2 separate regions of the Homo sapiens genome follow, and region 2 is linked to region 1. Evidence: promoter capture Hi-C in 16 types of primary human blood cells and fetal thymus (Javierre and others, 2016). All regions are on one chromosome and are shown on one strand. The core of a region is centred on a gene start or on the middle of the fragment in contact, and the rest is flanking DNA. Distances in the headings are between cores, read along the strand shown. Region 1 holds the start of RAPGEFL1 (Rap guanine nucleotide exchange factor like 1). Region 2 overlaps IGFBP4 (insulin like growth factor binding protein 4).

Region 1 (2,700 bases), core at 129-2,628:
TGCCTCCCTGGGTGGGTCAGCCTGCGCTGTGTAGGCCTCTGAACAGTCAGGGACCCCAGGGTTTTCAGGGCTAAAGCACCTCTGGCGGGTGGCATGGCTGCGCTGGGCAGCTCCCATTTTAATGTGTCAGGCCCTAATTTGGGGCCACAGGAGGAGGTATTCAACATCAGGGACCCATGGGAGTCAGTGGCTCCAATGCCCAGGGGAAAGGAAGGGTGGCTGAAGGAGAGTAAGAGGCTCAGCTGCTTCTCCAGACGAGGGTGAGGCTGCTGTAGGGAGGAAGGTGAGTACTGCTCTCCTCTTCCGCGGGAGGGTCTGTACCTCCGCTAGGCCCCTAGCCGGCTTCCGCGGACCACTCAACCCTATAACCAAGCCCCGGCACGGCGCCACCCCTACGCTCCAAGGGCAAGGAAGAGGAGCCGGGGCCAGCCCCTGCTCTGGGTGTTCGAGCCCACCGGCTCCTTACCTGAGGCGGCGCTGTCCCTGGTAGCCCCTCCAGCAAGCCGCTCCAGAACCCGGTTCAGAAGATGCTCGGGCCGCTCGGGGGCGCCCAGAGGGGCCCAGGGCGGCGAAGTCAAGGGCTCGCCTGGGGACAGCTCGTCAGATGAGTAGGAGGAAGGGGAGCGCAGGGGCCCCCCTCCCCCGAGAGGCCCGGGCCCCGGCACCTCCTCCAGCTGCAGCCAGCAGGGCCCCCCGCTGCCCGGCTCCTCCGCGACCCCCGCCGGCTCTCCTCCTTCCTCCTCAGGGGGCGGCTCCAGCCCCGGCTCGGCGGGGGGCTCCCGGAGGAAAGCGGGGAGCAGCAGGCGAGACACGCTCTGACGCCGCTGCAACGACCGCTGTCCCCCGGCTGGACCGCCGCCCCCGCCGGGTCCCCCACCCCCTCCAGGCCCACCGCAGCTCCCCAGACCCCCGCCGGGACCTCCCGCCACCGTTCGGCCCGCCAGCTGCGACGTCTGCTTCTTCAGAAATTTCTCCAGCGGCTTCATGCCCCCCCCCGCCCCTCTCCTAGGGGTCGCCGGGGGACCCAGGTATCCCAGGCGCGGGCGGGGGGGGCGGCGAAGACACGATGCTCAGAGCTGGAGGAGCAGAGTAGAGGGCCGTGCCAGGCGCCAGACTGGGGGCCAGAGGGGCCGAGCCTCGCTGGCCAGAGTCCAGTGGCCAGTAGCCGGGGGAGGTGCCAGAGGAAAGGAGTGCTCGCTCTCAGCAACCCCCCATGCCGGCTGCAGCCGGCACGCGGCCCGAAGAGTGGGCAGGCTGCGGGGCCGGTGCGCCCGGCTCTGCGCTGCGGCGGCAGAGGCAGCGGGCGGAGCGCAAGGCTGAGAGGACGCGGCGGCGGCGGCGGCGGCGGCTGCGCTCCTGGCCGTGAAGAGGGGGAAGGTGGCAGAACCGAGACCGCGCCCCCTCCTCCAGTCCCCGCCCAGTCCCCGCCCCTACCCTTCCTCGGCTCGCCCCCGCGCCGCACGAGGCTTGAACTCGCGCGCTGGGGTTGACCGCGAGGGAAACAGTAAGGGACTTGGGTTCTAAGCAGAAGAAATTAAGGGCAAAGGTAAGTCAGAGATTTACCAATGGGGAAGGATTCCTGGCTCAAGGGATAACCGGGTCTCAGCATCATTTCAAAGAGTCAGGACAGGTCTGTGGCCTGGACACCTTCACTCACCTACCTGTGTACCCAAGTCAGGCCTACAGATTGCTGAACCCAAGAGTGTGCACCTTTCTCATACTCACAGAAATATGTGGAGTTTATCTTCCTTCTGTGAGAAGAGCTGGGAAGGCCTCTTGGGTGAATTAGCATTGCCACTGGAGGCGGTGCCCATCTGTCCTCTCTGGTAGGGCACAATAGGTGGTGTGGGCCTGGTCTGTGGGCAGGTACTGGCAGGCAGGTAGGAGCCAGGCAGGGAGCAGCAGGTTGTGGCAGGTCTAGCTGGGGTGAGGAGGGGATAATAGGCAGTGGGGAGGAGACCAGGAGCACAAGGGCACCTGAGCCCAGCTGGCAGCAGAAGGAAGCAGGGCCATGGAGACAGGTGACAAGCCCCAGAACTGCCGACTATCATCAAGCACAGAGCCCAAGTGTACATGGCCATGGAGTGGGAAAAGTGGTGCCAATTAGCACTCCAAGTAATCCTTACTCCTGATGCCCACACCAGGAGCATTCTGTCCTTAAGGATATGCTGCCCCAGAAGGAGTGTGGGGGAGGAGGGGGGTGCATCGTAAAGCCATGCTAAGTGTGAGAACATCCAGGTTAGACTTACAAGGTGTGGGAGTGGCAGCAGGTTCTCGATGGGTTGAGGCTCTCTGGACAATGCCCCACCCCTGTTTACCGAGCACCAACCAGGCAGAGACAGGAATGCTAATGGCTGGGAGTGGTAGTAAAACTGAACAGGGTGTGTATGACATACGTATCAATGTATGTGCATATCTGTTCCCATGTGTGCTAGAGCATGTGTTCACAGAAATAAAGCTTTGCACACCCATCTGTTTGTGGATTTGGAAACAGTAAAAAGAAGACAGCGCACAATTTTGGCTAAGAAGCTGTATTAGAGGTCTGAGTATCAGCTTCCTGTGCTCCCCTTATTGGACACTCCAATATCCCCTGGCTTGAAAGGGGAAAGTGGCTGGAATGGGTTGGAGCTCCCCAGGTAGCATTTTATGAACTGAATAGGAAGAGGGAAGGGCTTCTCTCCCAGCACATGCCACAGTTAC
Region 2 (2,700 bases), core at 72-2,571, 270 kb before region 1:
TTCCTCTTTCCTGTTGCCTGATTTTACCCTCACAATTTCTCCCCAACGCCAGCCCCTGGCCCTCGAGAGACACCTAGGCTATGAACTGAGTGGGCCCAGCCATCCCGACCAGAAGTTTCAGCTGTGATCCAGAGGGTCACCCACCTGTCCTGCTAGAAAGGTCTTTTCCCTCTTCCCCTAGACTCTAGCTGGAGAAGCCAAGACCGCTGGTGCTGGGTACCAGGCCCTTTCTCTGAGGTCTGGCTCAAGGGGTATCACCCCCAACAGCTGTGTCATGCTGCCAGCCTCAGAATAAAAAACAGATAAGGCAACTTGGCCTGTTCTTCCCATGTTGACAGCAGCAAAATGCACCAAAGGCCACCCCACCCCTCTCAACTCCTCTGAATGTTGCCCCAAATTTGCTCCCTCGTCCTACCGCTTCCCTAAGTCCCAGCATCAGCTTCTTCATCACCATCTTCCTCATCACTTCAATTTATTGAGCTCTTACCCGATGCCAGACGCCCCAACCCTGTGAGGCAGGTCCTGTTGCCCTCCCCACTTTAAAAATTAGGAAAATGAAGTAGACTGGGTGGAAGGGGAGGAGGAGAGACTTAGCTCTGCAGCACTCTGTCTTTAAGTGGAAAGACTCCTGATACCCGAGGCACCAATACTGCTAGCTTTGCCAGTACTAAATTAAAAATGGGAAGCGGCCATGCTCCTCCCTCCCCCTCCCCACAAGGCACAGAATTTCTGGGAATGCCCTTGTTCCCATGACATAACTGGATTCCCAGTACTGAAGTAGGGGGGCAGAATTTGCTGCATTGACTAAAAATTAACCCAGCCTGCCTGTTCCCTAACCCTGTCCCAAAGGGACTGAGAGCCCAGCTTAGGAACTCCCCGTCCAAACGCTGATCTTTCCGCTGTCCACTCCCCCAGATTCCATGAGTCTAGGATCAGTACCAGGATGCAGAGGTGTGGACTTTTGATGCACACGCCCCGCCTCATCTCTGGTGGCCTCAGTGGTGTTAAGCCACAACCTGGCCAGCACATGGAAAGCTGTGACAGGAGGGCAGGCAGGGGTGGCTGGAGACGGAAAGGGGAGATCTGCCCCTGGGGCAAACAGGAGGCAGCTGGACCATAGCAGCCAAAGAAGGGGGCATGCCAAGTGGCCACCCTCCCCCAGCCACCTGCTGACACTCAGCCCCAAAAGGAAAAGGCAGAAAAAATAGACAGGTACCCTCGACCAAGCTATTCGCGGGCCAGTGGGCCCAAACCTTGGGACCTAAAGCAGACAGTGGCCTACTGACTGTGTAAGGCTAAAAAGATGGGTGGGTAGGGGCTTGGTCGTCTTATCTCACCCACAGACCCTGCAGGGCTGCAGCAGAACTCTAGAGAGTGCCTTTTACATGGTGCCATGTGGCCCAGGTCACAGCAAGGGATTACTTCTATGATGACTAGGAGGTGTGGGAGGGCACGGGCATAGCTTGCTCAGTAGGTACCTCCAGGCTTCCCTCGTCTCTCTCCAGATACCTGCATCCATTGCATGGCTGGAGGCTGGAGGACAAGGCAAGGAGGAAAGGGGGAGGGGCATTACAGACCTTGGCTGTGTCATCCAAAGGGGACCTAAAGCCACCCCATTCCAAGACACCGTTTTTTGTTTTTTTTGTTTATTTGTTTTGTTTTCTTTAGACAGAGTCTCGCTCTGTCACCCAGGCTAAAGCGCAGTGGCACAATCTTGGTTCACTGCAACCTCCACCTCCCGGGTTCAAGTGATTCTCCTGCCTCAGCCTCCCAAGTAGCTGGGACTACAGGCACGCACCACCATGCCCAGCTAATTTTTGTATTTTTAGTAGAGACGAGGTTTCACCATGTTGACCAGGCTGGTCTCAAACTCCTGACCTCAGGTGATTCACCCTCCTCAGCCTCCCAAAATACTGAGATTACAGGTGTGAGCCACTGCACCCGGCCTACTTTTTTTTTTTTTTTTTTTTACGAAATAGAGTCGCCCAGGCTGGAGTGCAATCACGTGATCATAGCTCATTGTAACCTTGAACTTCTCATCTCAGACTCCCAAATACCTGGGACTACAGGCATGAGCCACTGCAGTTGCCTATTTTTTTTTTTTTTTTTTTGTAGAGACGGGGGTCTGGCTATATTGCTCAGGCTGGTCTCGAACTCCTGGCCTCAAGCAATCCTCCCAAAGTGCTGGGATTACAAGCATGAACCTCCACACCCAGCCCCTAGATATTCCTGGAGGCCAGTTTGCATTATATCCAGAGGACAACCACAAAATTCTCATGCCATGCCCTCCCCAAACCCCTAGGGGATCTTATTTTCCTCCACTACAGGATGGAGTATTCCTACCCAACCAGAGGATGAGGTATTCCTACCCAGCCCTTTGAGGGCTCTTCTGTCTTGCATTCAAAGTGCTGAGAGAGGAGGAGGCTACCAGCCATCCTTATCTGGTGCCAGATACCCTCTGGCTGGTGGAGGATGGAGATTCAAAGGGAACGTGACTCTGTTGTACCCCGCGAACCCAAGGGCTCGGCCCTTGCTCCCTCCCAGTCTCAGTACCCCTCCTCTACCATTGCCACTGGCATCTCTGCCCCAAGATTAGCGACTTTCTCCCCCAGGACCCCCCTTCCCAGATATGCTGGGTGCCAGGCTGGCATTTCTCCTAGAATGTTTTCTGCTGACCCATCTCTCCCTACCCAGGGGCAG

What was found. The method cuts DNA at HindIII sites, captures the fragments that hold promoters and counts their contacts. A CHiCAGO score of 5 or more calls a contact.
Region 2: a contact is called between a fragment that was not itself captured here and the fragment with the promoter of RAPGEFL1 in region 1, in 1 of 17 cell types (neutrophils). The highest score is 5.2, in neutrophils.

What each region holds. Positions count from the first base shown.
Region 1 is chr17:40,176,148-40,178,847 of GRCh38, reverse strand. RAPGEFL1 (Rap guanine nucleotide exchange factor like 1) reads right to left here and starts at 1,378. Exons shown (of 15, transcript NM_016339.6): 1 at 467-1,378. The coding sequence starts at 986. RefSeq lists enhancers at 1-249, 250-1,106, 1,498-1,998, 1,999-2,499 and a silencer at 1,337-1,466. The HindIII fragment of the contact is 3,169 bases long and covers 1-2,460 here.
Region 2 is chr17:40,445,581-40,448,280 of GRCh38, reverse strand. The region is part of intron 1 of IGFBP4 (insulin like growth factor binding protein 4); the gene reads right to left. Among named protein-coding and RNA genes, the nearest start is that of IGFBP4, 3.5 kb to the right of the region's middle. The HindIII fragment of the contact is 3,027 bases long and covers 1-2,700 here.